3 separate regions of the Homo sapiens genome follow, and regions 1 and 3 are each linked to region 2. Evidence: promoter capture Hi-C in human tissues and cell types (Jung and others, 2019). All regions are on one chromosome and are shown on one strand. Each heading gives the region's core, a stretch centred on a gene start or on the middle of the fragment in contact. The rest is flanking DNA. Distances are from core to core; before and after follow the strand shown. Region 1 holds the start of POLL (DNA polymerase lambda). Region 2 holds the start of KAZALD1 (Kazal type serine peptidase inhibitor domain 1). Region 3 overlaps OGA (O-GlcNAcase).

The links. The method cuts DNA at HindIII sites, captures the fragments that hold promoters and counts their contacts. A contact is called where the count stands out against the background at its distance.
Region 1: a contact is called between the fragment with the promoter of POLL here and the fragment with the promoter of KAZALD1 in region 2, in 2 of the 25 tissues and cell types used here (aorta and dorsolateral prefrontal cortex).
Region 3: a fragment that was not itself captured here is called in contact with the fragment with the promoter of KAZALD1 in region 2 in 1 of the 25 tissues and cell types used here (dorsolateral prefrontal cortex).

Annotation. Positions count from the first base shown.
Region 1 is chr10:101,586,017-101,589,556 of GRCh38, forward strand. It overlaps POLL (DNA polymerase lambda), which reads right to left and starts at 2,241. Exons shown (of 9, transcript NM_001174084.2): 1 at 1,806-2,241; 2 at 1,230-1,390; 3 at 1-140. The coding sequence starts at 1,344. It overlaps DPCD (deleted in primary ciliary dyskinesia homolog (mouse)), which reads left to right and starts at 2,305. Exons shown (of 6, transcript NM_015448.3): 1 at 2,305-2,384. The coding sequence starts at 2,321. RefSeq lists enhancers at 1,881-2,160, 2,261-2,590. The HindIII fragment of the contact is 10,926 bases long and covers 1-3,540 here.
Region 2 is chr10:101,059,868-101,063,802 of GRCh38, forward strand. KAZALD1 (Kazal type serine peptidase inhibitor domain 1) reads left to right here and starts at 2,122. Exons shown (of 5, transcript NM_030929.5): 1 at 2,122-2,248; 2 at 2,675-3,236. The coding sequence starts at 2,726. LOC107984262 (a long non-coding RNA gene) reads right to left here and starts at 884. Exons shown (of 2, transcript XR_001747569.3): 1 at 243-884. RefSeq lists enhancers at 765-1,059, 1,986-2,874 and silencers at 1,187-1,606, 2,787-2,836. The HindIII fragment of the contact is 18,453 bases long and covers 1-3,935 here.
Region 3 is chr10:101,785,939-101,789,719 of GRCh38, forward strand. It overlaps OGA (O-GlcNAcase), which reads right to left. Exons shown (of 16, transcript NM_012215.5): 15 at 1,426-1,585; 16 at 1-649. The coding sequence ends at 513. Among named protein-coding and RNA genes, the nearest start is that of NPM3, 4.4 kb to the left of the region's middle. The HindIII fragment of the contact is 7,414 bases long and covers 1-3,781 here.

The DNA of each region.
Region 1 (3,540 bases), core at 991-3,490, 530 kb after region 2:
CACCACAATGTGAGTGACACCTGGGCCCTGGGCAGGGCATAGCTGGCCGCCATGCTGAACAATCTGCTTCTCAAAGAGTTCTGCCCGGGCTCGTCCAATGCCAGTGCGCACAACATGGGCCCGAAGGGAGCTCAGCCACTCTGTGGAAGGAACATCCAGATGACTACTGTTGTAACTTTTTAATTTTTATCTGCCACCCCCTGGCCACGACATAACTTCTAACATGATCTGAATGACGTGTTCACAGTCCCCTACCCTGAAAATAAGCATTTCCCTTCCATCCAGACAGCTTTCCTTCTACATATAGCAAATTTTCTCACAGGCCAGCACTTGAATGTAAGGGACAAGGATTTTCATACGTCCTGTTCCTTGGTGCAATCTAGAAGTGTCTGGCACATTGTAAGTAACCTGTAAATATTTGTTTAATGAATGCCTCCTCCCTTCTTACTTTGTTTTTTGTTTGTTTGTTTTGTTTTCTTTTGTTTTGTTTTTGTTTGGAGACAGTCTCACTCTGTCGCCCAGGCTGGAGTACAGTGGCATCGTCTTGGCTCACTGCAACCTCCATCTCCCGAGTTCAAGCGATTCTCATGCCTCAGCCTCCCGAGTAGCTGGGATTACCGGCGTGTGCCACCATGCCTGGCTAATTTTTTGTATTTTTAGTAGAGACAGGGTTTCGCCATGTTGCCCAAGCTGGTCTCGAACTCCTGAGCACAGGTGATCTGCCTGCCTCGGCCTCCCAAAGTGCTGAGATTACAGGCAAGAGCCACCGCGCCCAGCCTCTCTCCATACTTTGAATCCTTTATCATTTATTCTTTCAACAAAGCGCGTTTCTTGCCCTTACAGTCTGACAGACCCGACAACCCTGCCTCCAAAGCCTCTGCCATTTATTTGCCAATTTGGCTGCAAAACAACTAACAACAAGCCTGGGTAATGGAGGGGGGTTTCTGTCCCAGTCCTCAGGGCAAAAATTATACTGGTCATTCCCTGAGGGCCCAGGGAGTCTTTTCTGATGGATAGAGGTCTTCGGGTAGAAAAGAAGGTAACACAGCAAATAGCCTGTCCAAGACCCAGGACCAAGCTTAGCACAAGGTAGATACAAACAGACCTGCAGGCCCTGGACAGGCAGAGTCAGCTCCAATATCTGATTCTGGACATAAACAACGTAGGGCTGAAGCACATGAAGGCTGTGGGTTCAAGCACACGAGGGTTCTGAGACTGGGTCAGCTCACCTTCTGCTTCTTCTCCCTCTTCCCTCCTAGGAATCTTTGCAAGTACTTTTGATGATGCATCAGCATGAATTTTCTGCCGCTTGGGAAATGCCTTCAAGATACCCCTGGGATCCATTGAAGTATGGCTGGATCCCGGCCTATTGGAGCGTTGGTCAGGGCTGCTGCACGTGGAAATCCAGAATTGAGGCCCTCCAACCCCTTTGCCTATGGAGGTAGGGTCTTTCCTGACCAGGCTTTGGGGGTAGCAGCCCAGTTTGGGGAAGCGGGTCGGGGGAGGGGGTCTCTTCAAACCCGGTTAAACTTCAGTGGTTTAGCCTAGCTTCACACTCCCCAGCCTTTCGAAGTTGGAGTATTACGGGAAATGAGGGGAAGGCTGGTGCCATCGGGGGTACTTTTGAGGAGTAGGAAACGACACCATTCCTCAGAGGGGTTGCGCTAAAGATTCAGCACAGCCCTGCTGCGGCCCACTTCGAAGGGCTTTACCAAATGGGATGCTGGGCTAGGAAATGGAGCTTTAGGGGATGGAGCGGAGCCTGGGGAGGACCTGCACATAAACCCCACATACTATTTCTCTACCTCCAACACAGACTCGCAGAGGAAGGAGGAGGACTTTCGGGGGTGAGTGGGAACGCCCTGCACCTGTCCTGGTCTCAGCCTCTCGACATGGGGGTGCTCAGCGCCGCAGCTGCGGGGAGATGGGGCACGGCCGCAGCAGGTGTGGGGAGCCCTCCGGGAATGGAGGAGTCTCGCAGCTGCGGGTGAAGTCCCGGGCAGGTGCGGTGTACTCGCCGTGTACGCAGCTGGCGCAGGCCAGGGAATCCCAGCTCGGGGCTAGAAGAAAGCTGGAGTGCCCGACCCCGGCCCCAAGAGTCTCTCCAACCCCCAGAGTCGGTCCCCGGGTGGGGTCGACTACTGGCCAAGCTAGTCACCCGGGGGTGGGCAGGAATAGACCACTTACCAGCAGAGCCAATGAGAGCGGACGAAGGGGGGAAGGAGGGCAAATGGCCAGAATAGCTTCCGAGTCAGCCGGAAGTGACCCTCTGGAACGGTTGCCATGGCAGCGGCTGGGCGTGCTGCTTAGCAGGGGAAAGATGGCGGTGACGGGCTGGTTGGAGAGTCTGCGGACAGCCCAGAAGACTGCGCTGCTGCAGGACGGTAACTCGAGGGTCCCCACGGGCTCCTTCGTTTTTTTCCCTCAGGGTCCGGCCCTCCGGGAAGGGCCTCAGGGCCTGGGTCGGCAGAGCTGGAAGGGTCTCGGCGGTCAGCCGGGCCAGGTCCTGCATTTGCAGATGAGGAGACTGAGGTTCACAGAGATGACATGACTGGAACACATGTCTCCGGACACCCCTTAGATTCCTCTACACCATCTCGCTCCGCTCTGATTTCTGTTGCTAATATAGTAATTTCTTTTACATTCATTATCTCATTTGCTCCTCACCACTGTCCTGAGAGGCTAATTTTCACCCCGTTTTACAGAAGAGGAAACTGAAATCCAAGAATGTTTTAGACTTTAGAGAGGAGAGAGGCCTGGGCTCTAGTTCCGACTGTGCCATTAATTCACCACGGGCGCTTCAGTCGGCTCCTTTACTTGTTTGGGCCTCACTTTCCTCATCTATAAAATGAAGTGGATGGACTACCATTGTTATCTCTGAGGTCCTTTCCAGCTGTAATATTTTTGTTAAGTGAACTTCTAAATATTTTCTGTGTCTTTAGGGGAGCTAGAGCAAGAACCAAGGGCTGTGCCTGGAAGAAGTGGGCACAGGGGCATGGATACCTAACTTTTCCCCACCCTAGGATTGGCCGATGCCGGCCCCTTTGTGCACTTGGGTCCTTTCTGGACCCACTGGGTAGCCAGGATGAATTGCGTCTGAAGTTCCTGAGGCTTTCAAGATAACAACTGGTGACTCATGTTCACAGGCAGGGGCCAATCAGGGAAGCCTGGAGTTTGTGGAAATTAAAATCATTTACTCGTTCGTGCAACATTTAGGAAGACTTTTACTATGTGCCAAGCTCTAAACTAGAACAGAAAGAAAAAGATATGTTGTCCCAGGACTCAGAGTGGTTGGGAAAAACATGTACTTAAATAATAAGAAGCGTTAAATAGAGGTTGTAGTCTTGTATAAAATGGTAGGAAAGAGTGAAGGTGTAAGTGACATCTCTTTGGAGGAAGACCCAACAGAAGTGATGATGTTTCTGGGTCCTAAAGAATTAATAAGGTCAGGCACAGTGGCTCACGCCCGTAATTCCAGCACTCTGGGAGGCCAAAGTGGGCGGATCATTTGAGCTCAGGAGTTCGAGACCAGCTTGGGCA
Region 2 (3,935 bases), core at 872-3,371:
TATACGCAAAATCATTTGCTATCTCTTTACTATGTATGATGCGCATAGGTGTTACTGAATATTTTGGAGCCTTGATGGATAAAGTATGGGATGTTGAGGATCGGGGAATGTATCTAAACTTTCAAGTTGTGTCCTATTCAAAAAACTCCCTTCTAAAAGCATTTTTACGGTATGTAGGGTTTTAATGTAACAAAATCTCTACTTAATAACAGCGGATCCCCTTTTATTATCTTTGTGCCTACCTGGATGCACGGTTCCAGCATGTTCTCGTCACGAACCACAAGCCCACCAGAGGGCGCTGGTTCCCCGTCTACCTACTGTTCTCCATCAGCGACTCAGAAAATCCAGGTTAAACACTCAGGCAGTCTTTCACATTTAATCCACAAATATTTACCGAGAATTTGACGTGCCACCAGGCGCGGGGCTAGGTTCACAAGATACAGTAGTGAGTTAGGCACGATTCCTACTACCAGAAGCTTAGAGCATAGGGAAGACTAAAAGTAAGCCACCGTCTACAATAGTAGGATAAGTGGAGAGTTTCTAGGTCCGTGGAGTTTGTTGTTGAATATCTGCTCCAGGCCTTAGAAGCCGGCAGCAATTCACTAAAAGATCCCGGACTTGTCTGCTCTGTATCCCAGCCAAGGAGCTCCGTCCCCAAGGTGTTTTGTTAGAGTCAGAGACCTCTCCTTGGGTGATTCCATTCGTCAGCCCCACAAGTCCCCGTCTCTGGCCTTTTTCAGGGTCTCCGGCAGCTCTCTGACAGTTCCCCTTCTGTCTCAGGTCGACACTTATTCCAAGGACCAGGGATTACTCACAACTATCCGCCAGAGTTTGCTCCGCCCTTTCTTTTTCCTGTTTAAAATCCGCGGGCTCTTAGTGTTCTCGGTTCCTAGATTTCCTGTTCTGATTCTCGCGACAGTTGCGAGGCCTCGCGTGAAGTTCCCTTCTAGTCCCTATTTCGAATTTGAGACCGGGAGAGAGTGTCTGCCCTTGCCCACCTCCTCAGAACCCCTCTGGCCAGGGATGGCGCCTACGTGGCTCGGGAGCCCCTGAATGAATGGGCTTGGCCCAACTTAGGGGCGCATTCCGACGGGAGAGTCCTGGCTGTATTCCGAGGCTCCAGTGCGCATGCGGAGTCGATCCCGCGCAGGCGGGCGGGGACGGCAGCCGGGTCTTGTGGGCGGAGCCTGACTAAGTGCCGCCCCCTTGCCGGCTGCAGATTGCTATTTCTGCCCCCCACCCTCGCCCATCCCCCCGCGAGCTGGACTGCGCCAAGGCTTCTGTGAGCCGCTTGGGGCCGGCCGGGGCGGGGCCTGCCCGACCCGGGTTTGGCTGGCGGGCCCCTAGGAATGCTCTCCTCCCCGCCCCCGGCCCAAAGTGCCACGGTGGCGGTGGTGGCGGCCGCGAGGCCGAGTGTCTCCGGCCCTGCCAGCCTCGCAACCGTAACCTGTAATCCCGACCCGAGGGACGCCCGCCGGGGAGGCGCCAGCCCGCCTCTCCCTGCGGCCGCTGGTCGGCTCCGACCTCGAATCACCCGGCTCACCCGCGGGTCGCAGCACCTGCCGGATGTGGGGAGGAAGAAGGAGGCCAGATGAGGGAAGGCGGATGTAGGCGCCCAGTCTGTCCGCGCCTTGGTGGGGCAGCTGGGTGGGCAAGCCTGCGGTCGCTCCCGGGAACCAGCCCTGGGCTGCGGGGAGACGAAGGTGGTTGGTCCTGCCCTCCAGGAGCGCCCCGACATCGACGTAAAATGACTTGGCACCAGAGCTCCTGCCGCCTCCCCCTTATGCAGCTGCCCTCGCCGACGCCAGGGACTGTAAAATCAGATGGGACAGGGCCTAGCCGTTCAGCCAACACTTTGAGCTTCCCAGCCAAACTCCTACCCCCACTCCCCGCCTCCGGTCCTCACCCCCTTCCTCTCTCCCAGCCTCGGTGTCTGGTTACGGCTCCTCTGCTCGCATTGTGACTTTGGGCCAGGCTGGGGGAAATGACCCGGGAGGGTCCCATGCGGCTACATAAAATTGGCAGCCTTAGAACTAGTGGGAAGGCGGGTGCGCGAAGTCGAGGGGCGGAGAGAGGGGGCCGGAGGAGCTGCTTTCTGAATCCAAGTTCGTGGGCTCTCTCAGAAGTCCTCAGGACGGAGCAGAGGTGGCCGGCGGGCCCGGCTGACTGCGCCTCTGCTTTCTTTCCATAACCTTTTCTTTCGGACTCGAATCACGGCTGCTGCGAAGGGTCTAGTTCCGGACACTAGGTGAGCACTCTGTGCCCCAGGCCATAAGCGAGGCGGCATCAGCCCCCCCAGTTCTCACCCCCCATTAGCAGCTTCTTACTTCTGGAGCCACCCATTCTCTTTGGGCAAGGATGCTCAGGGGCCAGGGATCGGAGTCGGGTGGTGCACGGAAGTGGTGCTGGTGGTGGGTGTGCGTGCGCCTGAGCCTTATCACCCTTTCCTCACCTCTCTTCACTCCCAGCCCTCCCAAGAACAGCCCAACTGATTGCTAACTGCCATAACTGGATAATCCCTAGAGGGTCACTAGGCCTGTGTGTTGGGGGAGGCTACTTGGTAGCAGGGGAGGGGGCGATGCTAGTGTCATGCTTTGGTACAAGAAGCAGTGAGGTTGGTCTTTCGGCACAGGCCCTGTTTCTGACCTCCTGACCTGGCTTCCCTTCCTGGCAGGGTGCCCGAACGCGCTGATGCCCCGAGTGCTCGCAGGGCTTCCCGCTAACCATGCTGCCGCCGCCGCGGCCCGCAGCTGCCTTGGCGCTGCCTGTGCTCCTGCTACTGCTGGTGGTGCTGACGCCGCCCCCGACCGGCGCAAGGCCATCCCCAGGCCCAGATTACCTGCGGCGCGGCTGGATGCGGCTGCTAGCGGAGGGCGAGGGCTGCGCTCCCTGCCGGCCAGAAGAGTGCGCCGCGCCGCGGGGCTGCCTGGCGGGCAGGGTGCGCGACGCGTGCGGCTGCTGCTGGGAATGCGCCAACCTCGAGGGCCAGCTCTGCGACCTGGACCCCAGTGCTCACTTCTACGGGCACTGCGGCGAGCAGCTTGAGTGCCGGCTGGACACAGGCGGCGACCTGAGCCGCGGAGAGGTGCCGGAACCTCTGTGTGCCTGTCGTTCGCAGAGTCCGCTCTGCGGGTCCGACGGTCACACCTACTCCCAGATCTGCCGCCTGCAGGAGGCGGCCCGCGCTCGGCCCGATGCCAACCTCACTGTGGCACACCCGGGGCCCTGCGAATCGGGTACGCATGGCCCGGGGCCCCCACCCCAGCACTTAGGTTTCCTAGAGGCACTGCTCCCCGACCCCTGACAGCATTGGTCTCTGGCCAGCAGAGCAAAAAAGATAAGGCTATAGAGGCCTCGAGTCCAGTATAAAACCCTGCTCTCGCTACTGGTTCATAAAAGCTGCCACCTTAAGGTGGGGGTGGGGGGTGGAGTGGAGTGGGAGTCCCGGGCTTCGTCAGCAAGCTGCATTCGCTGAACCACGTGAAAGCTCCAGAGCTGGCTGGCAGGGAGAGACAGGTCCTCTGAGGGCGCAGGCACATAACCTATGGTTTGCTCAGAGACCCCCCCGACTTTTCCCAGACCAGTGGAGTCCAGGCAGCAAGACGGGTTCCTGTGAGATGCAATCACGTTTCATTCTTAGAGCAGTTTGTTCACCCAGTCTCCCCACCTCTCTGCTTTCTCCTGCTTTTAGGGATTAGTGAAGGGGAGCGGGAAGTTCTTTCTCTATCCCTGGGGACTGGGGTCCATTCAGGCCTCTAGCTTTCCTTGGTAGCTTTAGTAACTTTCACTTCCTGAGCCCGGGCTCTGCGTCTGGCTCGGCTGGGGCAGCCAGAAAACAAACACCCCGTGGGGGTCCCAGCAATTTCCTCCACTCCTGCAGGCTTCCTGCCTGTCGCACAAGTCCAGCTTCAGGTTCTCTGCCTTGCCGCAGGACT
Region 3 (3,781 bases), core at 1,003-3,502, 730 kb after region 2:
TATTTATTCAGCTTAAACTAATGCCACAACCATCCCACTTGGAATCACTCCACCCTGACACTTCTGAAACCCACTCTTTCTTTCTTTCATCTCTGCCATGTCCCCTAAGACTGAGAGGCATTTCACTCAATAAACCAAGGAAGATGACAGATGTTATCTTGATTACTCTCAGGTGAGAAACGCAACCACACTGGATGCAGAAAATAGTGCTGACTACATTTATTGAAGACTCTCTCCCTGTATAAGCCCATGTAAAAGGTCTCAGCACCTAACACAAGACTCAAAAAGGAAGCCCACATCTCTCTTTCATACAGGATTTGCTGCAATACTATATTCTTCCAACCAGTGAGTAGTCTCAAAGTGTGATGGGTGAGTTTTACATAGTCTTCTTTGTTTCGAATCCAATTGGCTGATTTGTTACCATTCTAGAGGCTGAACTGTATGAAGACCTCAACTACCATTCACAAGGTGCAGTTAAGAGACTTTTGGACAGTTCACAGTGTCAACAAATGTCACAGGCTCCGACCAAGTATAACCACATCCTTTGGAAATCCTTCCATTTTTGCAATTTCAAAACATCCTAACTTGCTGTAAAATTCCAGAATTCTTTTATCATCTGGTCTCACTTCACAGAAAGCTCCCCGGGAGCCTAGAAATAAAACAAATATTCAAAACATAAATAAGTCACTTAATTAGTATAATTATAGATATAAAACTATAATCTTCGAGATGGTTAATATAAACAGGGCTTGTCTGTCTACACCAGCTCCTACATTTCACACAATTAAAAAAATTCATATTCAAAAAATTCAATAATGAGTGGCGTGAGCCACTGCACCCAGCTTCCCCCGCACCCGAGACAGAATCTTGCTCTGTTGGAGTCCAGTGGCAAGATCACGGCTCACTGCAACCTCCGCCTCCCGGCTTCAAGCAAGTCTCCTGCCTCAGCCTCCCGAGTAGCTGGGATTACAGGCGCCTGCCACCACTCTTAGTAGAGACAGGGTTTCACCATGTTGGCCAGGCTGGTCTCGATCTCTTGACCTCATGATCCGCCCACTTCGGCCTCCCAAAGTGCTGCGTGAGCCACCGTGCCCGGCCTTTTTTTTTTTTTTTTTTAAATTAGGTAGAGATGGGGTCTCAGCCATATTGCTCAGGCTGGTCTCAAACTCCTGGACTCAAGTGATCCTCCCACTTCGGCCTCCCGAAGTGCTAGGATTACAAGCATGAGCCACTAAGCCCAACCAGCATTTCTCAATTATTAATACACATGCGATTCTTCACCACTAATTAATTCAGAAACCAAATCATAAAAGGTGGGAAAAGCAGTATAAATTTACAATTCACTTCTTTCCTTTTATATCCAAAAATATATAGTTCTTTCCCTATCTTGCCCAAATACCACCAACTCCACAAATATGTACTCACCATTAGCCTTCAGTGAAGACAGGAGGCAAGCCATCATGCTTTTGGCCACACTTGGGTCAGTTACTTTTTTGTGAATGTCCATCTTTATCAGAGAAGGGAAATTAGCAAGGAAAGTTTCTGGCAGTACTTCCTGTTCTTCATGGAAACTCAACATTATTTTCTGGAAAAATTAGAATCTCTTGACTTTCACAATAGTTACGCATTAGATATCTAACCCAACTACAGAACTTAGCAACAAGAAAGCAATATTTAATAACTCTTCCAGTCACTATGTAAATTATCTCACACAGGATTATCCTATAATTCTAGCTGAAGCATTTTCACTTTCTTTGAGACAGGATCTCCTTCTGTTGGCCAGGCTGGAGAGGGGCAGGCATTCTCCCTCGCGTGCACGCGCTCTCTCTCTCTCTCTCTCTCTTTCCCTATTTATATCGTCAGGGCTGGTCTCGAATTCCTGGGCTCGAGTGATCCTTCTATCTCGGCCTCCTGAAGTGCTAGAATTACAAGTGTGTGCTGCCGTGCCTGGCCACCGTTTTCACTTTTAAAAGCTTGGGCCAGAGATCAAGACCATCCTGGCTGACACAGTGAAACCCTGTCTCTACTAAAAAAAAATACAAAAAATTAGGTCGTGTTGGCGGGCACCTGTAGTCCCAGCTACTCGGGAGGCTGAGGCAAGAGAATGGCGTGAACCCAGGAGGCGGAGCTTGCAGTGAGCTGAGATGGCGCCACTGCACTCCAGCCTGGGCAACAGAGCGAGACTCTGTCTTAAAAAAAAAAAAAAAAAAAAGTTTGGGTTGGGTCTAGTAGCTCACGCCTGTAATCCTAGCACTTTAGGAGGCTGAGGCAGGCAGACTGCCTGAGCTCAGGAGTTTGTGACCAGCCTGGGCAACAAAGTAAAACCCTGTCTCTACTAAAAACATAAAAAATTAGCCAGTCATGGCGGCGTGCGCCTGTAGTCCCAGCAACTCGGGAAGCTGAGGCAGGAGAATTGCTTGAACCCGGGAGGCAGAGGTTGCAGTAGGCTGAGATCCTGCCACCGCACTCCAGCCTGGGCGGGGAAAAAAAAAAAAAAAAAAAAAAGTTTTCTGGCCAGGCGTGGTGGCTCACTCACACTTGTAATCCCAGAACTTTGGGAGGCCGAGACAGGTGAATCACAAGGTCAGGAGTTTGAGACCAGCCTGGCCAACATCGTGAAACCCCGTATCTAGTAAAAATACAAAAATTGGCTGGGCCTAGTGGTGGGCGCCTGTAATCCCGACTACTCGGGAGGCTGAGGCAGGAGAATCACTTGAACCTGGGAGGCGGAGGTTGCAGTGAGCCGAGATCGCACCATTGCACTCCACCCCAGGCGACAGAGGGAAACTCCGTCTCAAAAAAAAAAAAAAAAATTTTGTCTAAATGCTATGTGGTATTGGATCCTGGAACAGGAAAAGGACATTAGCAGAAAAAACTGGTGAATAAAGTTTGGTGTCTGATTAATAATATACCCATGTTGGTTACTTAGACTTCACCAATACAGAAAATGGATAAGGAGTATACAGAAACTCTGTTTTAACTCTGCAACTTTTCTGTAAATCTAAAATCATTTAAAATACATAAAATATTTTAAATTAACGTATTCCTTACATGAAAATGTGCAAATTTTATGTTATTTATATTTTACCACAATTTTTAAAAAGTTCTTATGCTGAAAAGTGTCAGATGTGGAACAGCAATACATCAGCAGCTCAATCACCAGCATAGTGTCAGTGTAATCCCAAGTAAGCGAGGCAACACCAAACCAGCCTCTTGTTACACAGCCATGTGACTAAGGGCAGAAGGTAAAATATAGAAATAAACTATGAAGAAAATGAGGCCAGGCGCGGTGGCTCACGCCTATAATCCTAGCACTTTGGGAGGCTGAGGAGGGCGGATCACCTGAGGTCGGGAGTTTGAGACCAGCCTGACCAACATGGAGAAACCCCGTCTCTATTAAAAATATAAAATTATCCGGGCGTGGTGGCACATGCCTGTCATCTCAACTACTCGAGAGGCTGAAGCAGGAGAACTGCTTGAGCCTGAGAGGTGGAGGTTGCGGTGAGCCAAGATTGCGTCACTGCACTCCAGCCTGGGCAACAAGAGCAAGACTCTGTCTCAAAAAAATAAATAAATAAATAAAAAGACTATGAATACTTTGGTGTGGTGGAGAGGGGTAGAGAATTTTAGAAAAGGAAAAGAGAAACAACATAGAAGAAAAGAAAAAAGTATCACAAGTAGGGGTCCAAATATCTTATTTACTGTGCATAAAAACTATCCTCAAGAAGGAACTATCTAAAAAATGCATATACTGGCCAGGCACAGTGGCTCGTGCTTGTAA